Linked DNA regions of Homo sapiens: region 1 is linked to region 2. Evidence: promoter capture Hi-C in 16 types of primary human blood cells and fetal thymus (Javierre and others, 2016). All regions are on one chromosome and are shown on one strand. Each heading gives the region's core, a stretch centred on a gene start or on the middle of the fragment in contact. The rest is flanking DNA. Distances are from core to core; before and after follow the strand shown.

What was found. Contacts are between HindIII fragments. The CHiCAGO score rates a contact against its expected background, and 5 or more counts as called.
Region 1: a fragment that was not itself captured here is called in contact with the fragment with the promoter of CD1B in region 2 in 1 of 17 cell types (fetal thymus); the score reaches 7.9 in fetal thymus.

The regions. Positions count from the first base shown.
Region 1 is chr1:158,293,839-158,300,876 of GRCh38, reverse strand. It overlaps CD1C (CD1c molecule), which reads right to left. Exons shown (of 6, transcript NM_001765.3): 6 at 6,103-7,038. It also overlaps a transcript of CD1B not described here. Among named protein-coding and RNA genes, the nearest start is that of CD1C, 7.4 kb to the right of the region's middle. The HindIII fragment of the contact is 3,555 bases long and covers 2,608-6,162 here.
Region 2 is chr1:158,326,037-158,333,141 of GRCh38, reverse strand. CD1B (CD1b molecule) reads left to right here and starts at 1,611. Exons shown (of 6, transcript NM_001764.3): 1 at 1,611-1,779; 2 at 2,080-2,346; 3 at 3,012-3,290; 4 at 3,494-3,772; 5 at 4,128-4,221; 6 at 4,885-5,187. The coding sequence starts at 1,719. The coding sequence ends at 4,906. The HindIII fragment of the contact is 309 bases long and covers 1,350-1,658 here.

The sequences.
Region 1 (7,038 bases), core at 3,136-5,635, 35 kb after region 2:
TCAAGCAGGAGAATGGTATGAACACAGGAGGAAGAGCTTGCAGTGAGCTGAGATCGCACCACTGTACTCCAGCCTGGGTGACAGAGTGAGACTCTGTCTCAAAAAAAAAAAAAAAAGAGAGAGAGAGAGACAAAGAAGGCCATTACATAATGGTAAAGGAATCAATTCAAAAAGAAGAGCTAACTATCCTAAATATATATGCACCCAAAACAGGAGCACCCAGATTCATATAATGAGTCCTTACAGACCTACGAAGAGACTTATACTCCCACACAATAATAATGGGAGACTTTAACATTCCATTGTCAATATTAGGCAGATCAACAAGACAGAAGGTTAACAAGGATATCCAGGACTTGAACTCAGCTCTGCACCAAGCAGACCTAATAGACATCTACGGTACTCTCTACCCCAAATCAACAGAGTATATATTCTTCTCAGCACCACATCATACTTATTCTAAAATTGACCACAAAATTGGAAGTAAAGCACTCCTCAGCAAATGTAAAAAGAAAAGAAATCACAACAAACTGTCTCTCGGACCACAGTGCAATCAAATTAGAACTCAGGATTAAGAAACTCACTCAAAACCACACAACTACATGGAAACTGTAGTCCTGAATGACTACTTGGTAAATAACAAAATGAAGGCAGAAATAAAGATGCTCTAGGAAACCAATGAGAACAAAGACACAATGTACCAGAATCTCTGGGACACATGTAAAGCAGTGTGTAGAGGGAAATTTATAGCACTAAATGCCCACAAGATAAAGCAGGAAAGATCTAAAATTGACACCTAACATCACATTAAAAGAACTAGAGAAGCAAGAGCAAACATATTCAAAAGCTAGCCGAAGACAAGAAATAACTAAGATCAGAGCAGACCTGAATGAGATAAAGACACAAAAAAAATCTTCAAAAGATCAATGAATCCAGGACCTGGCTTTTTGAAAAGATCAGCAAAATTGATAGACCACTAGCAAGACTAATAAAGAAGAAAAGAGAGAAGAATCATATAGACACAATAAAAAATGATAAAGGGGATATCACCACTGATCCCACAAAAATACAAACTACCATCAGAGGATAATATAAACATCTCTGTGCAAATAAACTAGAAAATCTAGAAGAAATGGATAAATTCCTCGACACACACACCCTCCCAAGAGTAAACCAGGAAGAAGTTGAATCTCTGAATAGACCAATAACAGGCTCTGAAATTGAGGCAATAATTAATAGCCTGCCAACCAAAAAAAGTCCAGGACCAGATGGATTCACAGACAAATTCTACTAAAGGTACAAAGAGGAGCTGGTACCATTCCTTCTGAAACTATTCCAATCAATAGAAAAAGAGGGAATCCTCCCTTACTCATTTTTTGAGGCCAGCATAATCCTGATGCTGAGAGTTTTAGACCAATGTCCCCGATGAACACTGATGCAAAATCCTCAGTAAAATACTGGCAAACAAAATCCAGCAGCACATCAAAAAGCTTATCCACCATGATCAAATCAGCTTCATCCCTGGGATGCAAGGCTGGTTCAACATATGCAAATCAATAAATGTAATCCATCACATAAACAGAACTAAAGAAAAAAACCACATCATTATCTCAATAGATGCAGAAAAGGCCTTTGACAAAATTCAACAGCTGTTCATGCTAAAAAACTCCCAATACACTAGATATTGATGGAACATATCTCAAAATACTAAGACCTATTTATGACAAACCCACAGCCAATATCATACTGAATGGGCAAAACTGGAAGCATTCCCTTTGAAAACTGGCACAAGACAAGGATGCCCTCTCTCACCACTCCTATTCAACATAGTATTGGAAGTCTGGCCAGGGCAATCAGGCAAGAGAAAGAAATAAAGGGTATTTAATTAGGAACAGAGGAAGTCAAATTGTCCCTGTTTGCAGATGACATGATTGTATATTTAGAAAACCCCATCACCTCAGCCCAAAATCTCTTTAAACTGATAAGCAACTTCAGCAAAGTCTCAGGATACAAAATCAACGTGCAAAAATCGCAAGCTTTCCTACACACCAATAACAGACAAACAGAGAGCCAAATCATGAGTGAACTCCCATTCACAATCGCTTCAAAGAGAATAAAATACCTAGGAATCCAACTTACAAGGGATGTGAAGGACCTCTTCAAGGAGAACTACAAACCACTGCTCAATGAAATAAAAGAGGACACAAACAAATGGAAGAACATTCCATGCTCATCGATAGGAAGAATCAATATCGTGAAAATGGCCATACTGCCCAAAGTAATTTATAAATTCAATGCCATCCCTATCAAGCTACCAATGACTTTCTTCACAGAATTGGAAAAACTACCTGATCTTTCATATGAAATCAAAAAGAGCCCACATTGCCAAGACAATCCTAAGCAAAAGGAACAAAGCTGGAGGCATGGGAAGAATGTATATTCTTTTGGTTTTGGGTGGAGCGTTCTGTCAATGTTTATTAGGTCCATTTGGTCAAGTGTCGAGTTTAAGTTCCAAATACCTTTATCAGTGTTCTCTCTTGATGATCTATCTAATGCTGTCAGTTGGGTGTTGAAGTCTACCACCATTATTGTATGATAACATAAGCTTCTTTGTGGGTCTCTAAGTACTTGTTTTATGAACCTGTGTGCTCCTGTGTTGGGTGCATATATATTGAGGATAGCTAAGTCTTCTTATTAAATTCAACCCTCTATCATTAAATAATGTTTTTCTATGTCCTTTTTGACAGTTGTTGGTTTAAAGTTTATTTTGTCTGAAATAAAAATAGCAACCCCTGCTCTTTTTTCTTTCCTGTATGCTTGACAGATTTTTTGCCATCCTTTAGTTTTGGCCTATGGGTGTCCTTGCATGTGAGATGGGTCTCTTGAAGATAACTTACAGGTGGGTCTTGTTTATTTTTTTTTTTTTTGTCTTTTTTAACGTGAGACAGGGTCTCACTCTGTTACTTAGGCCGAAGTGCAGTGGCATGATCACAACTTACTGCAGCCTCCACCTCCCCAGGCTTGGGTGATCCTCCTACCTCAGCCTCCTCAGTAGCTGGGACTACAGGCATGTGCCACCATTCTTAGCTAATTTTCTTGGTTTTTTTGTAGAAATGGGGTTTTTCCATGTTGCCTAGGTTGGTCTCAAACTCATAGGATCAAGCAATCGGCCTGCCTTAGCCTCAAAGTGTTAGGATTACAGGCATGAGCCAGGGTCTTGTTTCTTTATTCAACTTGCCACTCTGTGTCTTGGGGTGTTTAGCTCATTTACCTTCAAGGTAAATATTGATAAGTGAGAAGTTGATTTTGTCATTATTGTTAGCTGGTTGTTATGTAGACTTAATTGTGTAGTTCCTTTATAGTGTCACTGGTCTGTTTACTTAAGTGCATTTATGTGGTGGCTGGTAAGAGTCTTTTATTTCCATGTTTAGCACTCCCTTAATGACTTCTTATAAGGCAGGTCTGGTGGTAATAAATTTCCTTAGCATTTGCTTTGCTGAATTTCTCTTTAACATATAAATCTTACTTGGGCTGGATATGAAATTTTGGGTCAGAATTTCTTTTCTTTAACAATGCTGAATATAGGCCCTCAATGTCTTCTGGCTTCTAAGGTTTCTGCTGAAAGGTATGCTGTTAGCTTGATTGGGGTCCCTTTGTAGGTGACCTGCTCCTCCTCTCTGGTTGCCTTTAGTATTTTTTTCTTTCACATTGACCTTGGATAATCTTATTATTGTGTATCTTGAGGATGGTTTTCTAGTGTAGTATCTCTCAGGAGTTCTCTGAATTTCTTGAATTTGAATGTTGACCTCTATAGTGAAGTTGAGAAAATTGTCATGGACAATATCCTCATATATGTTTTCAATTGTTTGCACACTCTCTCTCTCTCTCTTTCAGGGACATCAGTGAGTACAGGTTTGGTCTCTTTACATAACCTCATATTTCTCAGAGATTTTGTTCATCCTTCTGTATTATTTTTTCTTTATTTTGTGTGACTGAGTTAATTAGAAGAACTGGTCTTTGAGCTCTGAGATTCTTCCCTCAGTGTGGTCTATTCTGCCTTTAATACTTCCAATTGTATTATAAAATTCTTTAGTGAATTTTTTAGCTCTGTCAAATCAGCTTAGTTCTTTCTTAAAATGGCTATTTTGTCTTTCAGTTATTGTATTATTTTACTGGATTCCTTAAATTCTTTGGATTCCATTTCAACTTTCTCCTGAATCTCATGATTTTCATTGCCATCCAGATTCTAAAATCTATGTCTATTATCTCAGCCATTTTAGTCTGGTTAGGAAAGATTGTTGGGGAGCTAGTGTGTTCATTTGGAAGTAAGAAGACACTCTGACTTTTAGAGCTGCCTGAGTTCTTCCACGGGTTCTTTCTCATCTATGTGGGCTGATGTTCCTTAAACGTTTAAAGTTGCTGTCCTTTTGATGGGGCCTTTTGCTTTTATATTCTTTGATGCCCTTGAGGCTTTGACTATGGTATAGGTTTGGGTCAGTGAGCTAGCTTTATTTCTTGATGATTTCAGGGGGCCATGGCTCAGCTCAGCACTCCTGGGCTATATGCTCTAAGACTGAGGGCCTGGGACCAGGCCCAGAACCTTGTTCTTTGGCCCCTTGAGACTGAGCACCTGCTTCACTGGAGGGGGCCAAGGTGCTCCCAGTCCACTAGCAACAACACTCCTATGGTGGGCAGGGTGGGGGGGTCCCAGAAAAGCATTTCATAAGGGCAGTGGCGGTGGGGGTCTGCTCTCACATGCATGTACTGGCAGCAGTGGGGCAGTGGCATGGTGGGGTCCACACTCACTCACATGCTGGTGGTGGTGGGGCAGCAGGGTAGAAGGTCCATGCACATGTACACCAGGGATGGTAGTGTGGCAGGGTACATGCACGCATGTAGGCTAGTGGGGACAGTGCAGCAGTGGTGAGGTCTCCATGCATATGTGCACAGAAGTGGTAGCAAGGCAGTGATGTCTGTGTATGTATGCCAGCAAAGCAGTTGTGGGTGCTGAAGGCAGGTGCATGCTGATGTGAGGCCAGTGACAGAAGCTATTTGGTGGTTTGGTGGGGTCAGCCAGTGAAAGACCTATGGCAGTGGTCTCTGAGAACTGCCTCAGTTGAACATCTGAGGCTGTGCTGCAAGCAGGTACAGACAGGCAGGGATCCTGGGAGAGGCCAGCAGACATGGGGTGGGGGGCTCAGATCAGTCTAGCCCCATCCAAATATCATGGTAGCCCTATTCTGTCCAGGTCTGATAGTCAACAAAGGGGTCAAAGCCACCTAGAGGAGCATGCCAATCCTCGGGTAATGGACATCCCTAACCATGCTCCACTGTAGCTGTTCTCACACCAAACCCTCTGGGTTCCATAGAAGCTGGAGTCCTGTCCCTGCCAACTCTGCAAGTAGCTTTCCCTGCCAACTCAAATGTCTGTGTGGGTCGTGGGGGTCTCCTGCAGCTAGGATTCCAGAGGTTCATGGATAGAGTGGGCCACTTCATGCCTATTTAACCAACCCCTTCCCTAGAAGCCACTGAGGACCAAGAATAAGTCCTAGTGTTTGGCAACCCTGTGTAGGGTTCGCAGCTTCTTCCCCCCTTCAGCCCAGGGTCTGCATTCTCCCTCCATCCACTCTCAATGCCTTCTTTCCAATGATCTTCTCAGAGTATACTGCTCTTCTTGATGGTCTTGTCTCTTGGTGGGAGAAGCTCTTCCTGGCTGCATCTAGTCAGCCATCTTGTCTCTTCTCCCAAAAATAAGTTTAATTTTATATATTTTTGGCTTTATTTCCCAGTTTCCTGGGTGTCCTAGAATCCTCTCTATTGATCTCTCTGTATCTGCAGGTCACAGGGTGACTAAGGGTGCAGGAGAGTCACCTAGGGCCTCCTGGTGCCAAGGAAATGAGCAATGGAAGCAGGACCCAAGCTGGGTGAGTGGGCACAAGGAGACAAAGGCCCTGCCAGATCTGGGAAGCCACCTCCTCCTCCAAAAAAAGTTATATTCATACATGGAATTCTATTCAGCAATGAAAAGGAATGGTTACTAATACACTGAGCAGCATGGATTACTTACAACCATATGCTAAACTGAAGAAAAATAAAAGGCAATACCAAGTAGATATGTTTATTTCCATCTTAATAAAATCATAGAAAATACAAGTTTAAGCTTAAGTGACATAAAGTATATCAGTAGTTGCAAGAATGCCAGGTTGTTGGTGTGCTTGACTACAAACAGGTATGAGGGGTTATGACATTTAATATCTTGATTGTGATTTTGTTTACATGGGCTTATATAATTATCAAAATAAATAGAACTGTACACTTAAAGATTCAAATTTTACTATAAATTATACATCAATAAAATCTATTTAAAATTTTTTGAAATAAATAAAAACATGAAAACAATAGAAAAGAAACATGGACAGATTGAGGAAGCAAACATTGCAACTTCAGGAGAGTGGACACAATCTCATTTGTTTTATCCACCACCAGTTTAGAAGCTGTATGTGCCTGTCTCAACTCAGTACCCAAAAAATATTAGTTGAATTAGTGAATGAAACCTAAAGGGACTAAAGTTTAGCCAAGGCTATCTCAGATAACACAGTCCTTTAGGAAATTTGTCTTCCATATACAGCACAACGGTTGCCTTGATCCCACTCCAACCCTGAGGACCAAATCTCTTGTTCCTTTTCTTAAGTATTCTGTGACATATCTGCACCACTGATCATCACATGTAACTTGCACACTCTCTGTCTATTTGCATTTGTAATTCTCTGTGTTTAGAAAATAAGTGTATCAAGGCACAAGGCTGCACTTTTCCTTAAATGTTTAAGGAGAAAATGAGGGAGCTAAAGGAGAGTGGAATTTATCTGCTAGGTATGAAGCATTTAAACAAAAAGAGAAGCATGAATATTTCCAATGCTACAACAACATTGGGAAGGAATATAATGAGAAAAATTGTCAACATGACAGTTAATCCAACTTAGATATGATGTTTTGTTTTGTGTTTCACTGAGCCTATCATATGCAGGAAAGGCACATTTA
Region 2 (7,105 bases), core at 362-2,861:
TGTGATAGTCTCCTGTGCCCTGCCAACTCTTTTGGATTATTTTTTAAAATGAGGAACATTTCAGATTTAGTTTGTAGCAATTCAACTTTGGGAGTCTTGCAAGAACTCACTTATTTTAATGGAAAATAGCCCAGGTTGTCTACCAGCTTTTCCTGAGCTCTGTTTTGGGTGTTCTACCCAAAATAAAAAACGTATAAACACAAAAATAGTAATGTTCATGTCTGTGACAGCCAATGTTAAGTCTCTGCTGTTGTCTATGGCTGTTATCCAAAAAGTAGATTCAATTCTGTCATGTATTGGAGTCTGGGAATGTTGTTAAGAGATACATACATTGAAATTTGGAGAGCTGCTCTGTATTTATCAATTAGGCAGTAATAATCTTGGATGAAGGCTAGTCTTATTAATGTTGTGAACCAGTCTTATTAATGTTGTGAACCAGTAGTGTCCCCAGGAATAGAGAACACTACACTACTCACTTTGCATTTTCTTATCCACATAATAGAATTAGTTAGTGATAACCCTCTTTACTCGGAATCGATTGCTGCCACATTTCTGCATGATACATAGATCTCTGCAAATATGTGATTTTTTTCCTAAATGGAGAAAATCCAAAAATTCTTCTTAAAATTTTTCATGGGCATACAAGAAGATAGGAGGTGACATCTTAAAACAAGTATCTCTGAACTTTTTGTATAAAAAAAAGCAACCTCTTTGCTCTATTATTAATACCACATGTGGTGATATGAATGCCCAAATGTAGACAGCAGTTATGAGATATTACAAGAGAAGAAAAAAGCTCTGCCGCTTATGGCAACTTACCCAAAAAGTTATCTTTGACTTAGGCTGGAGGTGCACATAGCATAGCTCCTAGAGTTCTGTTTATGTCATGAATATTTGTTACTCAAAACTCCATAGGCCAAGAGCTCCTGAAGAGAAGGTCACATGCTAGCAGCAATTGTCATTTTTTCCCTCAAATATTGCTATAGTATAATTTTGTTTGAATTATAAACTTCAGTCTTTATTATATTTGATTCTGGCATTTTGGTTTGTAGTGCTATAGTACAGGAAATGTTTTAAATGCTTTGCCTTTATGTAAGTGAATATCGGTACACACACATACACATACACACACAGACACAGACACACACACACACACACTCACAGCCAGTTTAGAATGTGGGGTAAGGAACACCAGACAAAGAGGGCAATATAAGAAAGAGAAGACATTGAAAACATTGGGAAGAGGCAGTAACAGAGTGCCAGAGAAGATAAGGCAGCTGGGAGGGGGAGAAACTAAGTGAGGTGGATAAACTAAAAGCATCCTTCTGGGTTAAAGCAGACTAAAAGCTTAGCAATTGCTTAATATCACCATCTTATCCTATAGATGTGGGAATAAAGGCTAAGGAAGGAGAAATGAAAATGCAGAATCATATGGGGGCTTTTCCAAGGAGGTATGAAGGAAGGTGAGGACAGGGAGAGCGGCTGGAAGTCAGGGGGTAAGAGAAACTCTAAAAATCAGGGCTTGAGGGAAATAAAAGGTGAGGTAAGAGGCTCAGGGCTGTGGGAGGCACATTTTTCTCTGAAAAGCAGTTTGGATGAGGAAGAGATTTGGCAGTTGGAAGAGAGAAGAAGTCACTACAGGGTACTGAGGAAAAGCTTTGCTGAAATTGGAGATCAAATACCAGCTCTGCCAGTAAGAAGTTGCATCTCCCAGTGAAATGCTGCTGCTGCCATTTCAACTGTTAGCTGTTCTCTTTCCTGGTGGTAACAGTGAACATGGTAAGAGTCACTCTGGCAGCTCCCAGCACTGGTGCAGGGGTTTGGATTTTAAAAAGCAAGCAGGGCTTTCCTAGGTGCAATTGGACACTAAGGGTCTGGGTCTTTCTGTCTCCCGCCCTCTTCAACCATTCTGGTGGTTGGGACTAGAACCTGAAGCCTTAAGGCAGTCAAATGTGTCAGACTTCCTGTGTTCTTTAGACTCTAGGTTCTTGTTTTCTAAATCATTTTCATTCCCATTCTTCCTAATTGTCTCCTGCTTCTCTCTTTATCTTCACCATCTTGCTTTTCCACTCTTCACAGCCTTCCAGGGGCCGACCTCCTTTCATGTTATCCAGACCTCGTCCTTTACCAATAGTACCTGGGCACAAACTCAAGGCTCAGGCTGGTTGGATGATTTGCAGATTCATGGCTGGGATAGCGACTCAGGCACTGCCATATTCCTGAAGCCTTGGTCTAAAGGTAACTTTAGTGATAAGGAGGTTGCTGAGTTAGAGGAGATATTCCGAGTCTACATCTTTGGATTCGCTCGAGAAGTACAAGACTTTGCCGGTGATTTCCAGATGAAATGTGAGTCTAGTCCACCGAACTGGGAAGAGTCTCAAGGACTCTCTTTTCTCTCTTTTTTGCAAAGTGTTGCTCTCTCTGATGCTTCTCCCTTCCTTTCTATTTTACCCAAATGCACGCACATGCTTTTCTTGAGTAGTCTCTCACTCCAGCTTCACACCATCACACCTCATATTTCAGATTCTTGCTGCCTCTGCACTCTTCTCTTACTCTCAGACTGTCTTCCACTTTGTAACCAGCTGCTGGTTTGTCTTATGTGAAACTTCTCCTCAAGGGCCCTTACTTCTCCTACCCTGTGCCTGAGTGATCTAACGTGTGGCTTTCTCCCCTAATCCATCTTTTCAATCATCTCCTCCCCGCACCCTCCTCTTGCTGGGAACCTCCACTCACTCTGGAATGCTGCACTCCTGACTGCACCACGCTCTGCCTCACCTCTCCTTTCATACTCACTGTACTCCTTTATCACATACCTTTGTCTTCATGGCATGCACATTTTTCTCAATGCTCTTGTTTCTGAAAATGTCTAAATGTTATCATTAGTTTTTAGCTCATCATCATTTTACACCAAATAACTTTATCCCCACCAAAATCTAAAATCCTAGGTTCTTTTCTCATGCCTTTTTTTCTTATTTGTGTTTAATAACTTGCTCTCTTTTCCCTCTACATAGACCCCTTTGAGATCCAGGGCATAGCAGGCTGTGAGCTACATTCTGGAGGTGCCATAGTAAGCTTCCTGAGGGGAGCTCTAGGAGGATTGGATTTCCTGAGTGTCAAGAATGCTTCATGTGTGCCTTCCCCAGAAGGTGGCAGCAGGGCACAGAAATTCTGTGCACTAATCATACAATATCAAGGTATCATGGAAACTGTGAGAATTCTCCTCTATGAAACCTGCCCCCGATATCTCTTGGGCGTCCTCAATGCAGGAAAAGCAGATCTGCAAAGACAAGGTTAGTCCTGCTGTTATTTCACTTCCCACCACCTCCTCTAAGATCAAGAGTAGGAAGATATCAAAGGATAGGAGCTTAAATAACAAGTTATTTGGTTCCCAAAGGAGTGAATGGGGTCGCTGTCCAAGCTTGTAGGTTTCTGAGTTCATAACCTCTGAACTCGAGTTATAACATGACACTTTTTTTTCTCCTTCCTGCCTTAGTGAAGCCTGAGGCCTGGCTGTCCAGTGGCCCCAGTCCTGGACCTGGCCGTCTGCAGCTTGTGTGCCATGTCTCAGGATTCTACCCAAAGCCCGTGTGGGTGATGTGGATGCGGGGTGAGCAGGAGCAGCAGGGCACTCAGCTAGGGGACATCCTGCCCAATGCTAACTGGACATGGTATCTCCGAGCAACCCTGGATGTGGCAGATGGGGAGGCGGCTGGCCTGTCCTGTCGGGTGAAGCACAGCAGTTTAGAGGGCCAGGACATCATCCTCTACTGGAGTAAGAAATAGCAGGGACCCAGGCTGGAAATGCCAGGAAGTGATCTTCAGGCATAGAGGGAGGCACTGGGGAAGGATAGAGCTTGAGAGATGAAAGAGGGAGAGATTGATTGATTGATTTCCCTGACCCCAATCCCAACAGGAGTAAAAATAGATAATCCAAGTTATCAAAAATGTAGGAATTAAGGACCTGTAAACTGGGTAGAGGGGATCAAAGGATGGATATATGGTGGCCAGGAATATGAGAGAGGAAGTTGGAAATGACCATACATTGGAAGTAGGTGGGCAAAGGAAGGCCAAGGAATTCTGTGTATAGTATCTGAAGTGACATCCTTTTGTCCTCTCTCAATTGCCAGGAAACCCCACCTCCATTGGCTCAATTGTTTTGGCAATAATAGTGCCTTCCTTGCTCCTTTTGCTATGCCTTGCATTATGGTATATGAGGCGCCGGTGAGTTGTGGGTGGTGTTGTTTTTTTTTTTAATATGTCTTTTCTGTTCACCCTTCCACTGTTTTTTACCATTTTATCTATTTAAAAATTGTTTATCCTCAATCCTTTCACCATATCCTTTCCCCAAACTCCCATTCGTTTTATGTGGACTTAAAAAAAATTCTGTTAAAATACACATAACATAAGGTTTACCATCTTTACCATTTTTAAGTGTACAGTTCAGTGGTGTTAAGTGTGTTCACATTGTTGTGCAAGCAATCTTCAAAACTCTTCTGTCTTGCAAGACTGAAACTCTATTCCTATTACGCTGCAAGTTCCCATTTCCCCTCTTCTCCAGGCCCTGGTTAGGACAGCTCTACATTCTGTCTCTATGAATTCTACTATTCTAGGTACCTTATATAAGTGGAATTGTAAATATTTGTCTTTTTGTGACTTATTTCATTTAGCGTAATATCCTCATTGTAGCATATGAAAGGGCTTCCTTCCTTTTTTGAAACTGAACAATATTCCACCATATGCGTATAACACATTTTGTTCATCCATTCGTCTATCTATGGACACTTGGGTTGCTTTCACTTTTAACTATCATGAATAATATTACTATGAGCATGGGTGTACAAACATCTTTTATGTGGAGCTCTTTTGTTCTTCTGTTTTTAACAGGTCATATCAGAATATCCCATGAGCCATCATCATGTCTCCTCTCCCATTCGCAATAAGTACCAAGAAGCCCAAGATATCAGCCCAAAAGTCAATCTTATCATATTTCAAATGATTTTCAAATTTGATGAAATCAGAGTTTTCATGTATTTTAAAATAAATTATTATTTAAACATCAGCAAAAAAGTACTTAAAACTGTAAATTTATTATGAGACTGTACTAACAGTGTGATTCACCCTGATTTTACACACATTAAAATGTTAGAAAAAATGTGTCTCAAAATAAATGAAATATAATACATATGACTTAATGGTGACTCCCTTTGGCTTCCTAATTTAAAACTTTTCTTTTTCTGCTTCTGGTTAAATATCATTTGTCAAAGAAAACCAAATATAATTATGCCAGAATCACTGTATTTGCAGAGATGCAGAGCCTTTTGGATGTAATTTCTTCTCTGTCTCTGCCTGGATGAATTTCTAGCCCTGAAGGCTCAGCTGAGATGTTTCTTCCTCAGGAAGACTTTCCTAGTGCTATAATAAAAGGAACTATGCAGAGATCCACTTTACACTTTACTCACAGCATTGGAGTTATTTTTGTTTTTCCTCCCCTTCTCTTTGTAAGTTCCTTGAGGACAGTGTTCCCTATTTGTAGATCTCTGGCAAGATCTCTTAGCTGCAAATTCATTTTCTCAGTAAAAACTATCTGAGTTGCTGTAACTGCCAAGTTAAGTGTTTTCTTTCAGAGTCATCTACTTTCTTCCATTTTTTTTTCTTTTTAGTTGATATTGTAGATTCTCCTCATCTTGCTAAAATAGTTTCCACTTAGCCAAAAAATATTATGTTTTCTTTATTTCTGTTCCAAACTCCTTTGGAGAAAACCACCCTTGGCTTACTACAGCTATAGTCTAGCTTTTAAAGGGTCATAGTGAGAGGTGAAGCCAGCTGCACTCCCTGGGTTGAGTGGGGACTCCTATAACTTTTCTGTAGCTAGCAAGAGTTTTGTAAAATGCACCAATCAATGCTCTGTAAAAACACACCAATCAGTGCTCTGTAGCTAGCAAGAGGTTTGTAAAATGCACCAATCAGTGCTCTGTAAAATAGACCAATCTGCACTCTGTAAAATGGACCAGCCAGCGCTGGTCCATTAATTAATAATTTTATAGGGGCCAAGCGTGGTGGCTCACGCCTGTAATCCCAGCACTTTGGGAGGCCGAGGCAGGTGGATCACCTGAGGTCAGGAGTTTGAGACCAGGCTGACCAACATGGCAAAAATCTGTCTCTACTAAAAATACAAAAATTAGCCGGGCATGGTGGTGCATGGCTGTAGTCCCAGCTACTTGGAAGGCTGAGGCAGGAGAATCACTTGAACCCAGCAAGTGGAGGTTGCAGTGAGCCAAGATTGTGCCACTGCACTCCAGCCTGGGTGACAGAGCAAGACCCTGTCTCCAAAAATAATAATAATAATAATAATAATTTTATATGTGCAAACATAAAGCAGTATAAAAACTATCCTTTGCTCATTAGACAGTTTTGAAAAAATTATCAACTCATGATTAAAATAAATTTTAGATATTGTATCATTTCATCCTTAACTATTTCAACATGTCTTTCTGTAACATATAGACTTTTTTAACATATAGCCGAAATTACATTATGACATCCCCAAATAAAAGATTTCTTAATATCATTAAATATATAGTTGTTCAGCATTCAAATTTTTTCCAATTGTCTCATGAATTGTTTTTACAGTTTATTCATTAAATTGGAATAAAAATAAGATTCATGCATTAAAATTAGTTGATGTTTCATAAACCGTTTTTAATCTGTAGGATTCTTCTCTCATTTTTATCCTAGAATTTGTTTTTTAAGAAATTTCATCATTCTTCTTGTAAAATCATCCACAGTTTGGATTTTGCTGATTACATAGCTATAATGTCATTTAACATGCCCCTTTGTTCTCTTTATTTACTATATATAAATAGATTTGTGGGCCGGGCATGGTGGCTCACGCCTGTAATCCCAGCACTTTGGGAGGCCGAGGCGGGCGGATCACGAGGTCAGTTGATTGAGACCATCCTGGCTAACACGGTGAAACCCCATCTCTACTAAAACTACAAAAAAAATTAGCCGGGCATGATGGTGGGCACCTGTAGTCCCAGCTACTCAGGGAGGCTGAGGCAGGAGAATGGCATGAACCCGGGAGGCGGAGCTTGCAGTGAGCCGA